4 separate regions of the Homo sapiens genome follow, and all the other regions are linked to region 1. Evidence: promoter capture Hi-C in 16 types of primary human blood cells and fetal thymus (Javierre and others, 2016). All regions are on one chromosome and are shown on one strand. Each heading gives the region's core, a stretch centred on a gene start or on the middle of the fragment in contact. The rest is flanking DNA. Distances are from core to core; before and after follow the strand shown. Region 1 holds the start of DIS3 (DIS3 exosome endoribonuclease and 3''-5'' exoribonuclease). Region 2 overlaps LOC105370259 (a long non-coding RNA gene). Region 3 holds the start of KLF12 (KLF transcription factor 12). Region 4 overlaps KLF12 (KLF transcription factor 12).

Region 1 (5,212 bases), core at 1,382-3,881:
ACCACCATAACCAGCTAATTTTTGTATTTTTAAGAGACAGGGATTTTCCAGGTTGGCTAAGCTGGTCTGGAACTCCTGGCCTCAAGTGATCTGCCCACCTCAACCTCCCAAAGTGCCAGGATTACAGACATAAGCCACCACGCCCAGCTGCTAATGTTTTAAGCTCATCAGTGAAAGACACAGTCATAAATTTTTGAATTGGTTTTAAACTTGGGTCTTTCTGCACTGAAAAACAAGTGATGTTGCTATTTCTGGATTTCAAGGAGGTACTAACAATAAGAAGCCTACAAGGGCTTTACTGGTATTCTTTACAAGAACATTGAAGTTTGAGATATAAGAATCAAGAAAGTTGAGATATTAAGGTTTTTAAAAATGTGCATAATCTGATGGAATTTCATTACCAGAAGTCTACACTCTAATCCAATGGTTCTCAATTGAGTGAATTCACCCCTCAGGGCATTTTGTATCATTACAACTGAGTGGTGGTGGTGGTGGTGGTGGTGGGGGGGGTAAGGGGTGGTGATCCTGCCAAATAGGCTAGGAACACTGTTAAACATACTACAATGTATAAAACAGCCTTTCCACCACAAAAAAATTATTCAGTTCAAAATATCTATAATGCCAAGATTGAGAAGCCCTGATCTAATCCAATAAAAGTACCATACTCATCATAGATTATTTATGTAATATAACGTAATAGGCAATATCATATTTTTGAGACCACACACTGAGTTCAAAGGTCTTGAATCTAAAAGCACAACAAAGAATTATATTCCTGGCCAGGCACGGTAGCTCATGCCTGTAATCCCACCACTTTGAGAGGCTGAGGCAGGTGGATCACGAGGTCAGGAATTCGAGACCAGCCTGACCAACATGGTGAAACCCTGTCTCTACTAAAAATACAAAAATTAGCCTGGCATAGTGGTGCGTGACTGTAATCCCAGCTACTCAGGAGGCTGAGGCAGAAGAATCGCTTGAACTTGGGAGGTGGAGGTTGCAGTGAGCAGAGATCACACCACTGCACTCCAGCCTGGGTGACAGAGTGAGACTCCATCTCAAAAAAAAAAAAAAAAAAAAAAAAAGAATTCTATTCCTTAACCTAATCTTGCTCAATGTAATCAGCTGCAAAGTATTAAACTTTTAAAAAGACCATTAAGAATAAATCTACTTTCTATTTTTAAACAAAATAGAAACTTCACAAACTCATATATTTTATTACCCTCTGTTAGTTGTTCACATAATATGGTATTCCAGGAACTTAAGCAAATCTCATCTTCCAAGATTCTATGGTCCAACTCATGCTAAAACCAATTCAAAATGAAAACATTTTGGAAATTAAAGTACCTATTGTAGTCTAGGAGTCAGCAGACCTTGGTTTTAGGCTTGAGCCCATCAATGCCTGTGTGACCTTAGAGAGATCCACTTAGCATTATCTTCTGCACAGCCATGTAAGAATTAAATAAGGTATGAAATCTATCACTTATCTTCTGACAATGTCATAAATTACTCACAGGAACCCTCTCCCGAATTTTGCTAATCCTGTGGTTTTCTGATATTTAACGTAATATTCCTCCTACCTATGGTGCTCATTAGTGAAAGTATAGAAATGCTTCTCTTGGTTATTAGTCACATCTCGGATGCGTTTATATACGGGGGCACTGCGATTTCTCACTTCTTGAAGAACTGTTTGTAGCACAATTACATTCCTGATGGCAGGGTCCTCAAGAACATCAATCTTAAAGAAAGATAAAGTTAATTTTTCCTATATTCATTTGTAAATAGCTCTGTCAAACATAAAATCCTGTTTTATGTTGGGCATAAATACTTTATGTTTTAAAAACACTGAATAAGTTAAGCCAAGAAGCTATTTGGCTATAGAAAACGAGACAATAGTCACTAAACCCTTCAGATCTATTAAAAAAAGCACACTTAAACAGACCAATCACAAGACTTCGTAGAATTAAGGGTATTAATAAAGGAATACGTTGGCCCACATAGTTTTTTGTTCCTAGGCACTTACAAGCTGCCTGGGAGTCGCAGGCTGGAGGCCACAGAAGCCCAGGTCCCCGGCCTCCAGGCACTTACAATCTAAGGCAGAAGAGACACCAGGAGTTAGAAAAATAACGTGTCTGAACTACGACTCCAAGAACTAAATTTTTTAAAGCACAAGGAAAAGAACCTCGGCCTGGGGAACAGGAAGCTTCGGTCCCGAGGGGGTTTCCCTTTCGCTAGGTATGTGACACTGCCAAAGACCCGCCTCCCTGGGCCTCAGTTTCCCTGTCATACCCCCTTGTCCCCGTGGGGCCGCGCTGTCCGCGGTTCGCCCGCCCACGCACCTGGTGCAGTAACACATTAGTGTCGGGCAGCAAGTAGTGCGGTTGCGGGCAGACGCTGCTCGCCGGGTCCTGGGGCTGCGGCTCCAGGGCCGGCCCCTCGTGCGCCCCTCCACACGCTGCGCACCCGGGCGCACCGCAGCCGATGTCGTCTCGCAGGTAGTGCTCGCGCACGATCTTCATCACGCCGCCCGCCCGGGTCTTTTTTAAGAACGTCTTGGACTTGAGCATCTTGCCTCGCCGCGCAGAATCCTAACCCCAGCAGCGCTCTTCCAGCAAAAGGCGTCAATCTAGAATACGCCTAACCCCGGAGGTTCTTCCCTTTCCATTCCCGGATATTAGTAACACTTCTCGCGGGAAAATGCCGAGATAAACATTGGTTGGCTCTCTGACGGCCGCGGGGATTGGGCGAGAGTGGGGAGGGGCGGCAAAGCAAGGCGAGGAGCCATTTCCGCCCGTGGCCTAGGCGGGGCTTCCTTCTGGACGCCACCTCACAACGTGTGTTGCTTTCCGCTCCTCGGAACATCCGGGAGAGTTGACTTCCGGCGGCTTGTGGGAGTGCTGGTTCTGTCCTCCTTGCGGGTGCGGAGATGGTTGTCTTGGTTACGGGTCCTAACGGTCCCCTGCCTTGAAATCCCTTGTTGAGGGCCTGCAACCTTGTGCTTCCGACCGGAGACGCCTTTGGTCCCTCGGTGTCTGCACTGGCTGCTGGTCAAGGCTTCAGTGTGGAGTAATTGACACTTTCGAGGTAACTTGCGACTATCATCGCTTTCTTTCCCGCGTGGGGCAAGGAATCCCCCGAGCTGCCAAGTTTGGGGCTTAATTTTCACGCCGAGTGTATAGGCAGTCCCCGTCTCGGGCCCTTTGTAATCGAGGAGAGAATTTGTCTTTGAATTCACTTTTTCTTACCTATTTCCCTTCAAAAAGAAGGAGGGAGGCCGATCTTAGTATAGTTCTCGCTGTTTCCCCTCCACACACCTTTCCTTATCATTCAGTTTAGAAAAACTGAAATATTTAATAGCATAATTTGTTATATCATGAGGTATTAAAACAAGGTAGTTGCTAACATTCTTATGAGAGAGTTAGAAGTAAGTTCTATTTAGAATTTCTTGAATTTTTCTTATATCCTGTTGTTTTCATTCTGCTATCTATAAAAAATGTTTTTGTCCCCGTTTTCCCTATTTAAAACATCTTCAATGATGCCTCATTGCCTGTAGAATAAAATCCAACCCTATTTTGACATTTAAGGCCTTCCAGTCTTGATCGTTAAGGGCGTGTGTGTGTGTGTGTGTGTGTGTGTGTGTGTTTGTGTTTGTGTTGGGGGGGCGGTGAAAGGAGTAACTATTCCAAGACTTGGCTTTGTTTTTTTACTTCCACTTACGTATCATTAATAACTGCATGATTTCTCCTTTTTACCATGCCTGTCCAAATCTTTAAAGATTCTAAGTGCTACCTCTGTGTAACGTTTCCCTGACCAACTCAGACGTGATTTCTGTTATCTTTGAGCATGTGTTGGTTTTAGTGGTGCCATTCTTGATTATAATGGGCTTTTTTCTTCATCTTGTACATTTCTTTGTTTCCTCCAAGTAAGATTCCTCCCCGCAGGAACTGTTTTTTTAAGTTTCTCGAAGGCTGACTTCATATTAGGAATTAATGTGTTTGATTTGAGCATTAACTTAACTGCAATAATCTGTTCTAGATTTGGGATGCACTAAATTGCCTAATATTTATTTAAGGAATCCTTAGTCTCTCTTTAATACAGTCCATGATTTCTGTAGTTAATTTTATAGTACATTTGAATTAATGTTTTTTAACCTACAGAATATTAAAATCAAATTAGAGAAGAAAACTGATCCATAATAATAAAAATGTCTCGAAAAATTTCAAAGGAGTCAAAAAAAGTGAACATCTCTAGTTCTCTGGAATCTGAAGATATTAGTTTAGAAACAACAGTTCCTACGGATGATATTTCCTCATCAGAAGAGCGAGAGGGCAAAGTCAGAATCACCAGGCAGCTAATTGAACGAAAAGAACTACTTCATAATATTCAGTTACTAAAAATTGAGCTATCCCAGAAAACTATGATGATCGACAATTTGAAAGTGGATTATCTTACAAAGGTAAGATCAGGTTTAAATTTTGTGTTCTATATGCTTTATTGTCTTCAAACGGCAGGTAAATAAGAATTAAATACACACATTATCTGAACTTGAAATGATACATTTATATTTCTTGACAAGTACAGCCTTTAAATAATTTTGGTGTTCATAGAAGTAGAGAATAGAATGGTGGTTACCAAGGGCTGGCATGGTTAGGGGTGAAGGAGGGTTGGGGAGATGTTGGTCAAAGGATACATAATTACAGTTGAATAGGAGGAATACATTCAAGAGATCTATTGGACAGCATGGTGGCTATAGTTAATGACATTGTAATCTTGGAAAACATTGTGTTTTTGAAAAACACAGCAGATGTTAAGTGTTCTCATTACTAAAATAACTATGTGAGGTAAAACATTTTTTAATTAGCTAGAGTTAACCATTTCACAATGTACGTATACTTCAAAACATTATGTTGTACATGACATATACACACAGTTTTATCTGTCAGTTGGGATCACCTGAGGTCAGGAGTTTGAGACCAACCTGGCCAACATTGTGAAACCCCAGCTCTACTTAAAAAAAAAAAAAAAAAAAAATTAGCCAGCCATGATGGTGGGTGCCTGTAATCCCAGCTGCTCGGGAGGCTGAGGCAGGAGAATTGCTTGAACCCAGGAGGCAGAGTTTGCAGTGAGCCACAATCGTGCCACTGCACTCCAGCCTGGGCAACACAGCAAGACTCTCAAAAACTAGTAATAATAATAATAATAATAATTGGAGGCC
Region 2 (5,212 bases), core at 1,024-3,523, 1.5 Mb after region 1:
GAGTATTTGTACAATGCCAGAAAACCATCCATTAATCTGACCTGTCTGCTAGACCCCCAGACAGCATGGGCTAGAGGTATTAATATTCAAAGAAATTTCCCTCTCAAATGGCCAATTGGAGGGATTCCAAGTTTAGTCTCTGCAGCCGTTGACACCACGAATGAGACACGGAGAAATAATAAGGGGGAAAGAATAAAAGCTAGAATAAAATTCAGAAATTTGCTTGAACTCAGCCACAGATTCTTTTTCATTCCTTTCCACTGACCTGATCTAATTCCAGCAGCTATTATCCCTGTGAAACACTGCCACAGCTGAATTTATTTTTATTTTGTCTGCTCAAAGGCAATGCAAAGCGAATTTGAGAGCACATCACCTTCAGGGAAAAGACTGCCGCATATTACTCACTACCTCCCTCCACCCCTCTGCGTGAAAAGGTTAATTTGAATAAGGCTGCTGCTTCCACAAATAGAGCAGTAACCAGCACACAGAGGAACCGCCAATGAGACTGTATTTCAATGATGTCATACTTATACCTGCCTCTTATTATTTGCTGAGTAGTGACAATGTGTTCCGTGAATCTCACGTATTATTGGTTAAGAGCCCTGTCATTCTGAGTACTTCTGGAGAGTTTTAGGCATTGCAGTTTCTTTACAAGCCCAGAATTTTTTCAGCTTCTGCACTTCAACAAACTGTTGGAGAAGGCAGAGTATTTTAAACGTTGTTGTCCTGAAGACAAATATAAAAACCTTTATAATTTATACCTGATTTACATGCCATTGGATGCTAGCTCCGTTTGCACAGCAAACGCAACATAGGAAAAGTCTGTTTTTTGTTAAAATAAATGAACAAACAAACAGTTGGACAGAACTTTCACTGAAGTGTTTCTAGAAAGAGTATGCTTAGCTGAATATTGTCCCACTGGCCTAACTGAAAACAAACTTATTCCACTTATTCTACAACAACAATTTTTTGCCCCAGTGAGCAGAGCTTTCTTAAAAAGAACTAGATCTAAAATTTACCAGTTTGTAGGATACAGGGCATTGGAGGAGGGAAAACCTACCTGGTTTATTTTTGTCCTAAGTGGGTTTTATTTTTAAATCAGTTAGGGTTTTGTGCCATTAAATGTGTGCTTCAGGTCACTCAGATTCCTGGGCTTTTCTGAGGAAATGCCTATAAATAGGTTTGAAAACTACACTACCTTATAATGAAGCTGACAGTTAGATAAATCAGTTGTGCATGAGTTAGGAATTATTCAACTAACTGAAACATTCAAATAAATGTTCTGGTCAGCATGAGATGCAAGTGTGATTGGGAGGCCAGGAAGAAGTGTTGGTAGTGATCTTAAGCTGAGGCTCAAAAGTCTCATCATCTGTGGTGGCAAGTGAGGCCCCAAGCATGGCTCTCTGGGCAAAGTCACATCCTCAGAGATATAGACAACAAGGTCAGTCTGTTCATTGTCAGTTGGCGAAGCAGAACATATATGGCGAAGGTTAATCCAGTCCACAGGCAGGGCTGTATATTAAATGCTCCAGTGAGAAGGGCAGGGCATTAAAGGAGCAACTGGATTTTAACCGGCAGAAAAAGACTAGAAAGTGTTCATGTGTAGGAGAATGAGATGAGAAAGGATGACTATATATGGAATAGACCTCCCTGACTGGATATACATATATGTATCTACACCTTAGTGAGAGAAATCTGGAAAAGCAGGCACACAAATCAGCAAAGATGATGTAAATTAGGAAGAGGTAGAAAGCACCAGATATTTTGGGCACCCATACCTCAAATTCAGTAGCTAATATCAACTATTTTTGAAATCAAAATGTCTTCTCAGCTGTGTATCAGAACTTATTGTTTGCAGAGTCTGATCACAGGTTAGCTAGATGTTGTAAAATTTGATTATTTTATAGTTTAAATAAATGCTTTACAATATTATTGTAGACATTGGACATTCAACGAGATGCTCACTGTGTTAAGAGCATGGGAAATGAGACCAAAGTTAAGTTTAATTGCAGTAAAAAGTAGAGAATAGACTACCATTCTATTAAAGTTAGAAGGACCTAGAGCTGTATCCACTGTACTTGAACTTCCTGGTATTTCTACCAACAAAGTGCATGTGAATTTTGATTCAAGAGCTCTCTCTCTAGTAACAGCATGGTGTTGAGTACAAGGGCCTTTGGTGTCAGACAGACCTGAGTTCAAATCCCAACTCCAACCATTAGTAGCTTTGCAACCTTGATCATTATAATTAATCTATCTAAACTTCAGTTCTCTTGAAGGATAATGATGATACCCAGGTATGGGGTGGGAAGATTGTGAGAATGAGACTGAATAAAGTATATATGTTTTATTAGCATAGTGCCTATCTCAGTAAATGAAAGGGTTTCTTTTTCTTTTTTTTTTTTTGTATGTTTGTGGTTTTAACTTTGTTATGTCCATAAGGTCCTTCCAGAATCTACATGACCTGTCTCCTTACTGATCATTTCTTGTCACTCCTTTTCTCCTATACTCTATCCAGGCCATACTAACCTTCTTGCAACTTCCCAAATAAGCCTAGTATGTTTTGGCTGGAGGACTTTACTTTGCAGCTCCCCTTGCCTGGAATGCTTCCCCTCCCAAGTGTACCTTCGTCACTTTCTTCAGGTCTCAGTTCAAATATTAACAAGAGAAATCTGACTTAACACCCTGGCTGAAATGGCTTCCCTATGACTCTCTTTCCCATAACACCATGTTATGCTTTTCCATTGCCACTAGACATGATTTTATGTTGTATTTTTAATTTGTTTATTATCTGTTTTGCTCTCTTGAGCATGTCAGGTCCACATGAGTAGCATCTTTGTTTGCTTCTGAGCCCAGAGCCTAGAAAAGTGCTTGGACATAGCAGATTCCTAAAAATCATTGTTAATGAGCATTGATGAAGACAGCAATAGGAACTCTTAAGTTCTTTAGGACAGGGGTACAACAGGCACATAGGTGCAATGGCCAGAAAGGGGCTCTGAACACCCCTGCCTCATACCAAAGCTGAGAATGTATATGAGCTTTTCTTATTGAGCCAAGCAGAAATATTTCAATTTACCCATCACATTATACGAATGAGATGTTAAGACAATGAGAATACACAGTTTTAGTATTCTTTACCCAAAGGGTGCCAGTGCTCTTTAGGGTAGATGAGGTGTGGGAAGCTGGGCCAGAAGAGATTCCAGGGAAAATCCTGGGTGAAGATTTTTAGCTGGTGTACCCTTTCTGAGGTCTACTATTTTTTCCCCCTTCAAACTCCCTCAAAACCTGTTCATATTGGCTGTGATCCTCACGAATTTTTGGGTACAATCGAGGGACTGAAAAAATGAGAATTGGAGATCAGATTAGTAAATGCAGGATATAATAGTAAATTCAAGAATCCCAGACATTCTCAACATTACACACACCTACACACATATTAATATGCATATGTATGAAATGAACTGACGGAAGTGTCACAGAATATTTTAAGATCTTTCTGTTCTCTTTCTCAGTCCATCATAATGATAAAATAGATTCTCTTCTGGATTTCTATTTCCCAGTAACTGAAGGACTATATAAGATGGCATCCAGCTTACGTAAGCATTATCCCTGCTGACATTCCAAACGAGCAGTTCAAATGCCACCTAATCATCCAGTTATAGCTTGGATTTTGGCAGTCTTTTATAAAACACTGCATTTGAAGGAGCATCTGCCTTTTGTATATTGGCCATGTCAGCACCTGTGGCTGCTTCTTTTTCTAGAAACTTCTGAACATGGTAAACGTAATATGAAATAAAATTAGTGCTAACCACCAGAATGCTCTTAAAAGTGTATAGAGTCATGATTGAAATTCTGAATGTACAGCCCATTTTTAAAGAAAATTGGCTATCTCCTCTCACCTCTTACTCCTCCACTACCCTCAATGTTAGTTGTCTTAGATTAGTGCTTCTTAAACTTTAAAGTATCTACAATCACTAAGCCGTCAAAGGGACCTTATTAAAATAATACATATTTTTCCAGAATGCCGGGAGTAGGGCATGAGATTTGGCATTGCCAAAAACTTCTAGGTGAAGCCATGTGCTGGTCTGTGAACCACACTTTGAGTAAGTAGCAGGAGTTTATTTTTATTTTTATTTGTATGACTTTATTGGGTACAAGGCAATTTTGTTACATGCACCGATTGTGTAGTAGGGAAGTCAGGGCTTTTAGGCACCCATCATCCAAATCATGTACATCGGACCCATTAAGTGAAGCACTGGTTTAGATGACATAATGTCACATGTTTGGTTTTCTAATCCCCCAAATTAATAAGAGAATTTTTAAGGAGGTCATTTACTATTTTTTTTTAGGCCAGGCTGGAGTGCGGTGGTGCGATCTCGGCTCACTGCAACCTCTGCCCCCTGGGTTCAAGTGATACTCCTGTCTCAGTCTCCTGAGTAGCTGGGATTACAGGCACGCGCCACCATGCCTGGCTAATTTTTGTATTTTTAATAGAGATGGGGTTTCACCATGTTGACCACCATGGTCTTGATCTGCTGACCTTGTGATCCACCCGCCTCGGCCTCCCAAAGTGATGAGATTACAGGCGTGAACCACTGTGCCTGGCCTCTTCCACATGCATTCTCTTGTAACTGTGTTAAGAGATTTTGTTCTGAGGTATATTCACATCCAATTGGTAACCAAGCCATTTTGAGTCTAAGAAATATTTCTCTCTTCTCCATCCCCACAGGCGCTGCCTCAGCTGAGGCCTTCCTCATTTTTCCCCTGCAAAGCAGTAATAACCTCCGATTTATCTCCCAAGCCCCAGCTGCACCTCCCTCCAATCCATCATCTCATATTTTATCTCCTTATTTTTCTTTCAAAAATTGTTTTGATGAGCTCCTTTCCTGATTAAAGGCCCCTGCTGGCTCCCCTTGCTTAAAATAGAGGTTGGCATAGGCTCTGTCCCCTGACAAAATTGGGCTGGAATACAAACTCCTTCAATTTCCTTTTATGTAACATTGGGCAACTTGCTTAACTTCAGAGAGGCACACTTTCCTTATCTGCAAAATGGAGATACTACTGCTTATCTGGTAGTGTTGTCATGATTTAGATGGAGGACTGTAGGTAAAAGCATCTAGTGTATGATGGCCATAGCAGATGTTCGATAGCTTAATTACTCCTCCCTCTTCCTTTCCTTTCCAGCCTGACCAAGTTTTGCTTTTCTAACCTCTTT
Region 3 (5,212 bases), core at 1,953-4,452, 1.4 Mb after region 1:
ACATCTAAAACTCACTGGAGCCTGTTAAAGTGCATACTTTCCCTGAACAGGAGTCAGGGAAAATATCCCTGAGCAACATGTATATTTTCACATGACCAGAACACGATGGATATTACAGGCCAGATGCATGTTCTTCAGAATGAACGTCAAGCATCCCGATTTGTTCTCCCTTTGGCCTGGGGAGAGTGAGTACACTAGTGTTTGCAGACCTTCCCTTTCAGCACACACATAGGCTGCAGCTGTAGTAAACAACCACCAGCCAAGAGTTGCTAAGGTCAAGGTCTCAAATGCTATACCAGGACCATTTACTCCCAAATGATAGTCATTGCTGTAAAAAGAACTTCTGGGGAGTGGGAGGTGGAGAATATTAAGGACTCATTAGCACAACAATTTTTTTCAATAAACAGTAATAAAAAGCATTCCACAATAAAGTTCAGCTGACTGCATTGCTAAGTAGTAGATAAATAACTGAAGGTTTTCAAAAATAAACAGAAACCCTCAAGAATGTTTTGTTTAACCTGACATAGCCATGTTGGTTACATGGTCTTAGTTCAAAATTATGAAAATTTTATGTGAAAACATTTCAAATTTCAAATTTTCCCAGTACATTTCATAATAGTTATTAAATTGGCAGAATAATAAACTGCTTTCCTAATTTTTATATGCTCAAATTGCTCTTTCCCCAACTCAAAGGAGCTTAATATATTCAATCTAGTATCAAGACCCGTCTGCAACAATAAAGATATAACTTACCCAACTGAAACGTCTGTCCTTCAACATCCTATTTCCACTATGCTTCTACAGTTTGAAATTTTCTAACCTAAAAGTATACTCCTTTATCGGAACCAATTTCTATGTGGTCTTAAAAAATGCACACAACATGTGAATGAGGTCTGAGAATAGCACAAGCAAGCTTTTTTCCTTGAGGGAGGGGGGGTCCACTGTTTTAAATAAATGTCAGTTCTAAAAGCGTTTCTTAGAAGACGGTATACACCCACTCCTCAAAGTGACCACTCCTATTCCCATCACAAGCTGCTTCTTGCTAAAAGCCACCAAATTTATTTCAAAGCATTTACTTATCTAAACAACTCTATCGTCCAGTAAGAAAAGGGCATGGAGGCGTCTAGGTGGTTTTGCAGAATGACGTGTATTTGATTGGCAGATGTCTACCGAAGTCACTAGATGCACACGCACTAAATGTAAATAGAGTTGCTCGTCTCTCCGATGTTACAGGGAAACAGAGAATCTTAACGCTGGTGTAAAATAAAATATCAGAGTGCTCGCCGAGAATTCCATTAGCCAGTGGAATTATCTAAAACAATCCATACAGAACGACACTTTAGCCATCTATACAGTTAAATTAGAGTGCTGACAATACTAACTACGCAAACTGTTTATCCAGATTACACATTCCGTTGTATTAATACTCTTTAACTCAACACAGTCAGCTTTTATCAGCTGAAATAAGACTATTACTATTAAAGTATGCAAAACTCGAAGCGCAGGGTGAAGGGGGTTGGGAAGCTGCAGGGCATATAACAAAGGAATTGGTACTTTTTCCAAGCATTTGCCTCAAATGCACTGCGAAACAAAACTGTTGAGTGCACCCCACCCTTTTCCCCAAAGATAAAAGTTTTCAAAGTTCTTGCAGACAGCTCGCTACCCAACAAAAGCAGGACTGATTCTCCCCGTAGGGGAGCATCTAACGTGAACACCAACTAATGTCGCGGAGGTCAAGTCTGAACCCTCAGAGTGAGCTTCTGAGGCAAGAAGTGGCTCCCAGGCCGGCTCTGCGGGTTCCCGGCCCGGGTGGACGTACAAAGTTGCCCCTTGTCAACTCCGGCCAGGTCCCCCGTAATTGAAAATAACAGCCACCGGCCAGCCCCTGGCTACTTGCATGGACCAGGCACTGTAGCAAGTGACAGTTACACATCATTACGACCAGAGACAATAATGAATGTAGCACCAGGAGCACTATTCATGCCAGCAGTGTCATCTCCGCCTTAACCCCTTCCCCTCCACTCTCTCCAGCGCGCACACACAGCCCACACGGTCCCGGTGCGGAGCTATTCATCCACCCCGCTCGAGGCCGGGGGGCCAACTACTTCCACGAGCCCCCCCTCCCCCCCAAGTTCAGCCCTGGGGTTTTATTTCACATCCTTGGCAACTGTCAGGCAAACACTGCAACCAACAATTCCACTAGGGGTAGAAAAACACTTGCTTAATTCACGTTACTTGATAACTTCTTCTGGAAAAAAAAAATTAGGGGAGGTGGGGAAGAAACCTCCTTCTTTCTTCTCCACGAATCCGACCGACGCTACTTGCTTTGCAACAGCATCGCCCTTCCCCGGCCCCCTCCCGCTTCCCAGCACTTTCCCCCTTTAAGAACACAGACCAACCAAAATGATTTAACTTGAGCAGATGACAGAAGGAAAATAAAACACGTTAAGAGAATACGGTCTGATTTGGGATGGCAAAAAAAAAAAAAAAAGAGGAGGGGGTTGTTTATTTTGATAAGAAACGGAATCGGCACAGACCTGAACAGAAGCTGCAGAGCAGGAGAAATTGTTTTCTTTCCCTCACACAGAGTCCCCCTCTCTCTCTCCCTTTCTCTCTCTCACACGCGCGCGCGCACACACACACACACACTCGCACACACACGGCGTCACCCGCGCACACGCACACGCAGAGCCTCTCAGCGGCTCTCTGCAGTTCTCAGGAAATGAATGGGGGGCAACCCGGGGAACTGTTGTACTTGCAAATGACTTACCCGGATCACATGATGCGCTAAATGTAGGGTGGGCCGGTGGGTGGAGGCTGCCGAGTTGCGAGCCCCGGTCTAGTGTGGGGAGCCTCGCCAGGCCCGCATCGAATTACCCCGGGGCCCAGCCGAGGGGGTTGCAGGACGCCGCTTCTCCTCCCTCGCAGCCCGCAGCTCAGGAAACCGGAGAGGCGCTTGGGGTGGGGTGGGGTGGGGTGCTGTGAGGGGGGGGGCCGAAAACAAGAAACCCCCAAACAAAAGAGCTCCGGGTCCTCCTCCCCAGAAACAAAGCCCCGCCGCTGCCGGCGAGCCCCGGGGTGGGGCCGAGGGCGGGGGCGGCGGCGGGGAGGGGCTCGCTCAGCAGGCGCTAAGTCGCTTTATTGCCATAAAATGGGGCCCCCGAGCCGCTCCGCCCGAGGATTAGGAGGCGGGCTCTGAGTGTGATGGTTGAAATCCCCTGTGGGAAACTAACCCCTCCCCGCTCGCAGAGGTAGAAGGCAACACCCACTGCCCGGCCCTCGCCTCCCCGCCCGGACCGCCGGGCTGGGTCCGCGGCGCCTCCACCCCGCCCCACCCCGCCCCACCCCTGCCCCCGCCCTCCGGCCCCGGGCCTCGGCAGCGCTTCCCTTTCACCTGCACCACTTTGCTGCGGCACCCCAAATAACCCACACATGGCCCTGGGAGCTCGGGGAGTCGTCGGCCGAGGGGGCCCGCGGGGGCTTGCGGCGGGAGGGACCCCTGGAGAGCAACTCGCTGGGCAAGGACTCGCGCCGAGCCGCGAGAAAGTCTCCTCTTTTGTGTCAGAGCGCGCCAGACAGGCTTAGGAGAATTCGGGGACCCAAAAAGCGTGCAGCCCGCTTGGGCCCCCACCCCTCGCCGCACCCGCCCGGGTGGGGGCGCGCAGTGGAGGGAGGGGGCTGTCGCCCGGGTCGTCCCCGCGGCTCGCCCGCCAGCGAACTTGGAAAGGTGTGGGCGGAGCCGGCCGGGACTGTGGGGCAGCTCGCGGGGACCGCCCCTGGGCGCCGGGCATCGCCCGCGCCGGGCAACAATGGGGTCAGGCAGGGGCAGCCCCGCGGGCGGTGCCCCCCGCGCGCCGGTGGGGCGGGCGGAGGGCCGGGCGCGGCAGGCAGGGGAGTCATTGTTTGGGTTCCGGAGCGACGCACGTTGCGGGCGAAGCGGGGGCGCCCCTTTTCCCTGCGCTTCACCTTGGCGGGATGAATGGGGGCGAGGCGGAGATGCGCGCCTGGCCTCGCCACCCCAGCGAAGGGGCCCCTGCCTGCGCCAGTTCTGTGGGAAAGCACGCAAACTTGGAGGACTGGGGCAGAGGAAGCGGGATCTGCAGACCCCCGCGGGGCCCGGGGGCGGCGGGGAAGGGAGTCCAGCTCCACTGCCCCACGCCCAGAGCGGAGCCCCAAGAAGCGGACGGCCCGGAGCCGAGTCCTTGACGCTCTCCCCGGCAGCCCCTCCCTCCCCGCCTCCGCGCCCCGGGGAGCGGATCCGCGGGATTGTGGGGCGGGAGAGGGAGGAGGCGGCCGGGCGGCCCTGCAGTTCCCGCGGCGGCTCGGAGGGCGCGGGGTCAGCGCCGAGCCGGAGGGTCGGCGGGGGCGGGGAGCAGACGGGGCGGAAGCGGCCGGGCGGGCGGGGCGCGCGGCGGACGGAGGCGGGAGGCTGTGGGCCCGCCTCCTCACCATCCTAGGTGAGCGCGGCGCTCCGGGCACGACAGTATTCCCCTGCCCCGCGCCCCCGGCCCGGCCCGCCCCGCGTGGGAAATCGCCAGGGCTGTGGGAAGGCCGGGAAGGGGAAGTTTGTGTGCAGAGAGAAAGCTTTGCTGTACTGTGGCGTGGAGTGGGGTGGGAAGAGAAACAAGGGAGAGGCCGAGAAACAGGAAATGAGAACGAAGGCACGAATGTGAGCCAGGGCCAGCTGGGCTCCCCATCGGTGTGGCGGTTTCCAGCCACTTCAGGCGCGGTGTGCGTTCCTAATGACAACAAAGGCGGCGTCTGCCTGGTGCGTTCTCTGCCTCTTGCCACTCCTAGGTTCTGGGGAAAATGGGATGGGTGGTCCAACCTAGAGGAGGGGTCCCACAGCCTAAGATGCGTCTTAGGAAGGCAGCAGGATTCAGAGGAGGGGTCTGTCCTGGTCTTGAGGTTTCGAAGAGGAAGAAATGTCTGAAATTTGTGGAGCACTGCTCGAGTGAAGTAGCCTCAGCGGCGGGAGCGGGAAGGCGCGGGCGCAGCGAGGGCGTCGGGAACCCAGTGGGACTCGGGGGTGAGGGGTTGGTGGTTGCTGCGGTGCGGTCTCTGTTCCGGGGAATGCAGCCGCAACTCCCACTCCCTGATCCGATCCTGGGCCTAGGGTAAACAGCCCCTTACACTCCACTACACCCGGATGGAAACGACGTGAAAACACAAGTTTGAAAAGCAGCAGAATATCAACAACTGCGCAGGATTT
Region 4 (5,212 bases), core at 1,035-3,534, 1.0 Mb after region 1:
CAATTTTTAAAAAATTAAAATTCATTAAAATGATCCCCAAACACTTCTATAAGACCTAGACATCTATAGGTACCATTTTAAAAAGCACATTGAGGCTAATTTTCTGACACCAACTCTAATTCTCATTCTGAGAGTTTATAGTTGACAAAGTCCTTTGTTAGGCCACAATAAGAGTTAATAAGCTTGGAGCTATGAATGCATTTCCTGGATTAAGACTCCTTTCCAGTACAACTATTGTCTTCATGACTAGTATTTCTCACATGTAAATTTCTTGATACTTTTTATTGTGCCTCTTATAAATCCTATTATATTAAATCTTCTTTAATAGTTTGATTACTGAAACTCTAAATTCCAAACTCTTATTTAAATTGAAATAACTGATTATTAAAGAACCAACAGATACATGTGAATCTAACTGTGCTAAATCACAACATCCATACTCTCCTACTTAAGGTGAATCTGTCATTTCAGACACAGTCACGGTGCGTCATGATAGTGAAAACACAAACCACATGACCAAATGACAAAGGACAACTGGTGGTCCCAAGAAGTTATATTTACACAGGAGGGCTCAGGTTTTTCAAGTATGTTGATAAATCGCTAACTCATTCCATCACAGATTGAATAGGACCTAAGACATAATTTAGTCCAAACTCCTTGTTTTCTGGTTGCAGGAAAAAAAAATCCACAAAGGTGAGGCAACACTTCCAGGTCCACTACTTGGCAGTGAGGGGGTTATCAGCTCCTCAAGCCACCTTTGAAAATCTGCTTCTTCAACACATACTGGGATAGCCTTTTTAAAAAGGTGACAGGCCGGGTGTGATGGCTCATGCCTGTAATCCCGGCACTTTGGGAGGCCGAGGCAGGCGGATCATCTGAGGTCGGGAGTTCGAGACCAGCCTGGCCAACATGGCGAAACCCTGTCTCTATTAAAAATACAAAAATTAGCCAGGCGTGATGGTATGCGCTTGTAGTCTTAGCTACTCAGGAGGCTGAGGTATGAGAATCGCTTGAACCCAGGAGGCAGAGGTTGCAGTGAGCAAGATTGCGCCACTGCACTCCAGCCTGGGCGACAGAGCAAGACCCTGTCTCAAAAGATACAAATAAAATAATAAGGTTACGAATACATAATTATACATACCTGTGGGTATAGTTTAGTACAGAAAACATTTAACTTTTCTATGTGGAATCCTGACTTTATATATATTACAGTTGAAACACAGTTCAACCCTGCCTGTTATCTGACAATATTCAATATATTTAAAGGATGACTTTGAAAGTAGCCTTAAGTTCCCCTTCTCCTGATGAAGTAATTTCAAAAACTTAACCCTTCCCAGCTGTCAGTGTGTCATTCTGATCTTTTCACCATCTTCAATTACCCTATATTCTTTCTTTAAAGAATATTTTCCAGAGTGCAAAGATCATGAAGGGATGTTTAAATTAACCTGTCCCTATGCAAGGTTCAACTTCTTTGTAAATAGCCCACAAAATAAAGAAGCCATTACATTAACAAATGGATCAGATTGCTTATGTTCTCTGTGCTCTGCACCACATGGGATATCTGACCCTAGTCTTAAAATGAAACAAGGAGTACAGACGCGTCTTTGTGCTCCTGTCTCCTAGATAGAGCCAGGTTATTACTGTTCCACTCTATCTCTTTATGACTGGTTTCAAAATCAACAAAGTCTGGATTTTACAAGCATGAGATTTGCTAAAAAGAAAGTTTTCATGATTTTTTCTGCACAGAATTGGGACGACATATGAGACAATCTTGAATCTTATTTTTCCCCATGATAAAGATGGCTCTGCCTGATCCACGCAGACCTTCCACACTGACTGCTGATTTTTGGCATGTATTGAATGCTCAATAAATGTAAGCTTCTCCCATGAAAGAGAGCAGAAATTACTGTAATGCACAAAAAAATTTAAATTCACTGGAAATTCTCTTTGAATACAAACACCCTAGGTATAATGGACACCAAAGGAAATGCCTCTTGTCATGTTAAGGATGATATTCTCTACCTGTCTCCTCCACAAACCTAGCTTGGTATCTTACATATGGCAAATGTTCAATACACACTGAATAAATGAAATATGAGAATGAAGTATGAGAATTTCCTTCTGGTGTCAGTGATGCCATTTTATAGAACAATGCAAACGCATTCACTGGAAGTTACATGGTAGGAATCTGGATAAATCAGTAATGTTTATCTGCAATTTTGATTTTATGATCCTAGTTTTATGCAATATAAACAATTAACTAAATAATACCTGGGCACTTTACAAGTACAGAAATCTGAAAAGCACTTAAGAAACTCTTGTTTTTCCAAATGATAAGAGACGGAAGGTTAGAGAGCTATAAAATATGGAGACAGGACTGTTACAAAAGAAAAGCTCCTTGTTTTCTACTCGGGACAAACCAAGACTCAACATAAACTTTGGGTTTACAATTTACAAGTATTTATTCATAAATATTTTTAGAATCTAACAGATCAGATGAAGGAAGGAGAACTTTTAAAGTTCATATGGATAAGAAGATAAAGATGATGTACCTAGAATAAATAGTAAACAGAGAGGAGGAGATAAAAATAACTCTGGCATATACTGGGCTTTTAATAAGTATATTTTGAATGGGTCAAACTTCATAAATTGATGCCTACATCAATCTATCCAGATAATTATCAGATAAGCAAGCTTATTTTACAGACATACACAAAAACATGTTGTAATTAGGGAGTCTTCTCAAACGCAATTATTGGAGGAACTGTCTAAAATTTTCTCTTCATTCCAATCGATCTCTAGTGTACAGAAATGACCTTCACTCCTCTGACTGTCATTCTTATTTTTCTCATCTCCCTTACACATTTCTACATTTGCCTCCCCATGAATCTTAGGTTCCTACTCCGTTAGCACTGACAATTCCTTCCTATTAACCTGCTATATATCCTGGCTTGTTTGTCCTTTTCATAACTAAACTAGATCTGTACTATCTCTAGTTCACTTTTTTTCCCTCAACTAACTAAACAGGCTTCTCACATTTTATTCTTCTGGAACCTCAGAAAGATGGAACCCATTTTCGTGGTGCTTCTCTAAGCTTTCTCCCTCTCTCCCTGTCTGTCTCTTTCTCCCTGCCCCTGTGCTGTGTGTGTGTGTGTGTGTGTGTGTGTGTGTGTGTGTGTGTTATTAAATCTTCTTCCTTCATCTGTCTCCTTACTGCAGGCCTTCCTCCCAAACTGGGTCCTTGATATCTGTTCCTGTGAATTGAACAAATCTTATAGAAAACTCTTTGGTAGTTTATTCTAAAGATAAACACGCATCTACCTTTGAGCTAGCAATCCCCTTCTTCAGTATTTACCTAAGAGAAATAAAAACATATGTCCACAGAAAAGTTGCACACACAGACCTTCATCTAGCCTTATAATAGTCTCAAACTAAAAACAATCCAAATGTCCATCAAGAAGTGAATAGGTAAATTATGTTATACCCACACAATGGAATACTATTTAGCAATGCAACAACATGCAAGAATCTCAAAAACATTATGCAATGAAAGAAGGCTGAAAAAAAAGAACACGATTCCATACATGAAGATCTAGAACTAACTGGTGGTAAAAGGCATCAGAAAGTGGCTGTCTAGGGGTTTGGAGGAAGCAGTGCATTTATTGGACAGGGACACAAGGCCTTTCTGGGTGATGGAAATGTTCAGATCTTACATGAGAGTATACAATTGTTAAATTCTTTGAACTGCACCTTTAAAATAAGTGTTTTATTGTATGTAAAAAATACCTCAAAAAATAAAAATAAAATAACCTCAGGGATCGTCCTTCTGCCACTGACTTCCTGTCTATATTTCCCATCCTTCCTGATCAGTTCCAGTTCTAGATCTCCAAATACCAACAGAAGAGCTCCACTTGGATGTTTCATTATTGTATCAAACTCCTTCACTCACCTCTCTTAGCTACATTATTCAGTTCAAAGGCATAGCCATTCCTTCTTTCTTCATCTTATTCTTTAGAGTTTAGTTATCACCAAAACTATCAATTCTTCCTTTAAATACAAATCATAAATCTTTTCCCTTCAAGACAGAATGCAGTAAAGAGCAATCTTAACATGTAGGGGAGGCCGGGTGCAGTGGCTCACGCCTATAATCCCAGCATTTTGGGAGGCTGAGACAGGAGAATCACTTGAGGCCACGATTTCGAGACCAGCCTGGACAACACAGCAAAACCCCATTTCTACAAAAATTTAAAAAATTGCCTGGGCATGGTGACATGCACCTGTAATTCTAGCTACTAGTGAGGCTCAGGCAGGATGATCCCTTGAGCCCAGGAGTTTGAGGCTTTAATGAGCTATGATCATGCCACTGCACTCCAGCCTGGGCAAGAGAGCAAGATCCTGTCTCAAAAAAAAAAAAAAAAAAAAAAAAGCATTACATTTTTTAATCCTAAACTTAGAGTTATTGTTATCGTTACTTGCTCAAAACCCGCCACTAGAGGCCTGGTCCAGGCCCAGAGTCAATCACATCTGAACTACTTCAATAACTTCCGACACATTCTTCTTCCTGATTGTTTTTTGGCGTTTAACCAATTTATTACTCATTTTCATGACTAATAATTTACCATATAATCCCTTTAAACCATTATATTGATTTCTAATATGCAGCAAGATGTATGAAACCCCAAATTTGTTTCAAAGCAGAAGCCAACCAGAAAGCGTGGGTAAAAATGTGGGGCTAAAACAACCAATGCTACATCTCTTACCAAAGAAATTATTTTTGAGCTGACAGAAACGAGCAATGGGGAAAAGACACCCTATTCAATGAATGGTGCTGGGAAAACTGGCCAGCCATATGTAGAAGAGTGAAGCTTGACCCCTTCCTTACACCATATACAAAAATTAACTGAAGATGGATTAAAGACTTAAATGTAAAGCCCCAAACTATAAAAACCTTGAAAGACAACCTAGGCAATACCAACCTGGACATAGGAATAAGCAAAGATTTAATGACAAAGACACCAAAAGCAATTGCAACAAAAGCAAAAATTGACAAGTGGGATTTAATTAAACCTAAGAGCTTCTGCACAGCAAAAGACCATCGATGGAGTAAAAAAACAACCTACAGAATGGGAGAAAATATTTGCAAACTATACATCTGACGAAAGTCTAATATCCAACATCTATAAGGAACTTAAATTTACAAGAGAAAACCAAA

The links. Contacts are between HindIII fragments. The CHiCAGO score rates a contact against its expected background, and 5 or more counts as called.
Region 2: a fragment that was not itself captured here is called in contact with the fragment with the promoter of DIS3 in region 1 in 2 of 17 cell types (fetal thymus and total B cells); the score reaches 7.1 in fetal thymus.
Region 3: the fragment with the promoter of KLF12 here is called in contact with the fragment with the promoter of DIS3 in region 1 in 1 of 17 cell types (fetal thymus); the score reaches 5.2 in fetal thymus.
Region 4: a contact is called between a fragment that was not itself captured here and the fragment with the promoter of DIS3 in region 1, in 1 of 17 cell types (total B cells). The highest score is 6.9, in total B cells.

The regions. Positions count from the first base shown.
Region 1 is chr13:72,779,269-72,784,480 of GRCh38, forward strand. It overlaps DIS3 (DIS3 exosome endoribonuclease and 3''-5'' exoribonuclease), which reads right to left and starts at 2,632. Exons shown (of 21, transcript NM_014953.5): 1 at 2,337-2,632; 2 at 1,578-1,735. The coding sequence starts at 2,564. It overlaps PIBF1 (progesterone immunomodulatory binding factor 1), which reads left to right and starts at 2,865. Exons shown (of 18, transcript NM_006346.4): 1 at 2,865-3,081; 2 at 4,155-4,453. The coding sequence starts at 4,202. RefSeq lists enhancers at 1,824-2,738, 2,656-2,765 and a silencer at 2,326-2,375. The HindIII fragment of the contact is 4,441 bases long and covers 2,199-5,212 here.
Region 2 is chr13:74,290,063-74,295,274 of GRCh38, forward strand. All of the region lies in intron 1 of LOC105370259 (a long non-coding RNA gene), which reads left to right. It also overlaps a transcript of KLF12 not described here. Among named protein-coding and RNA genes, the nearest start is that of LINC00402, 61 kb to the left of the region's middle. The HindIII fragment of the contact is 6,826 bases long and covers 1-5,212 here.
Region 3 is chr13:74,131,202-74,136,413 of GRCh38, forward strand. KLF12 (KLF transcription factor 12) reads right to left here and starts at 3,203. Exons shown (of 8, transcript NM_001400136.1): 1 at 2,771-3,203. RefSeq lists enhancers at 1,681-1,860, 1,891-1,940 and a silencer at 2,950-4,699. The HindIII fragment of the contact is 3,671 bases long and covers 912-4,582 here.
Region 4 is chr13:73,793,368-73,798,579 of GRCh38, forward strand. All of the region lies in intron 5 of KLF12 (KLF transcription factor 12), which reads right to left. Among named protein-coding and RNA genes, the nearest start is that of LINC00393, 130 kb to the left of the region's middle. The HindIII fragment of the contact is 816 bases long and covers 1,877-2,692 here.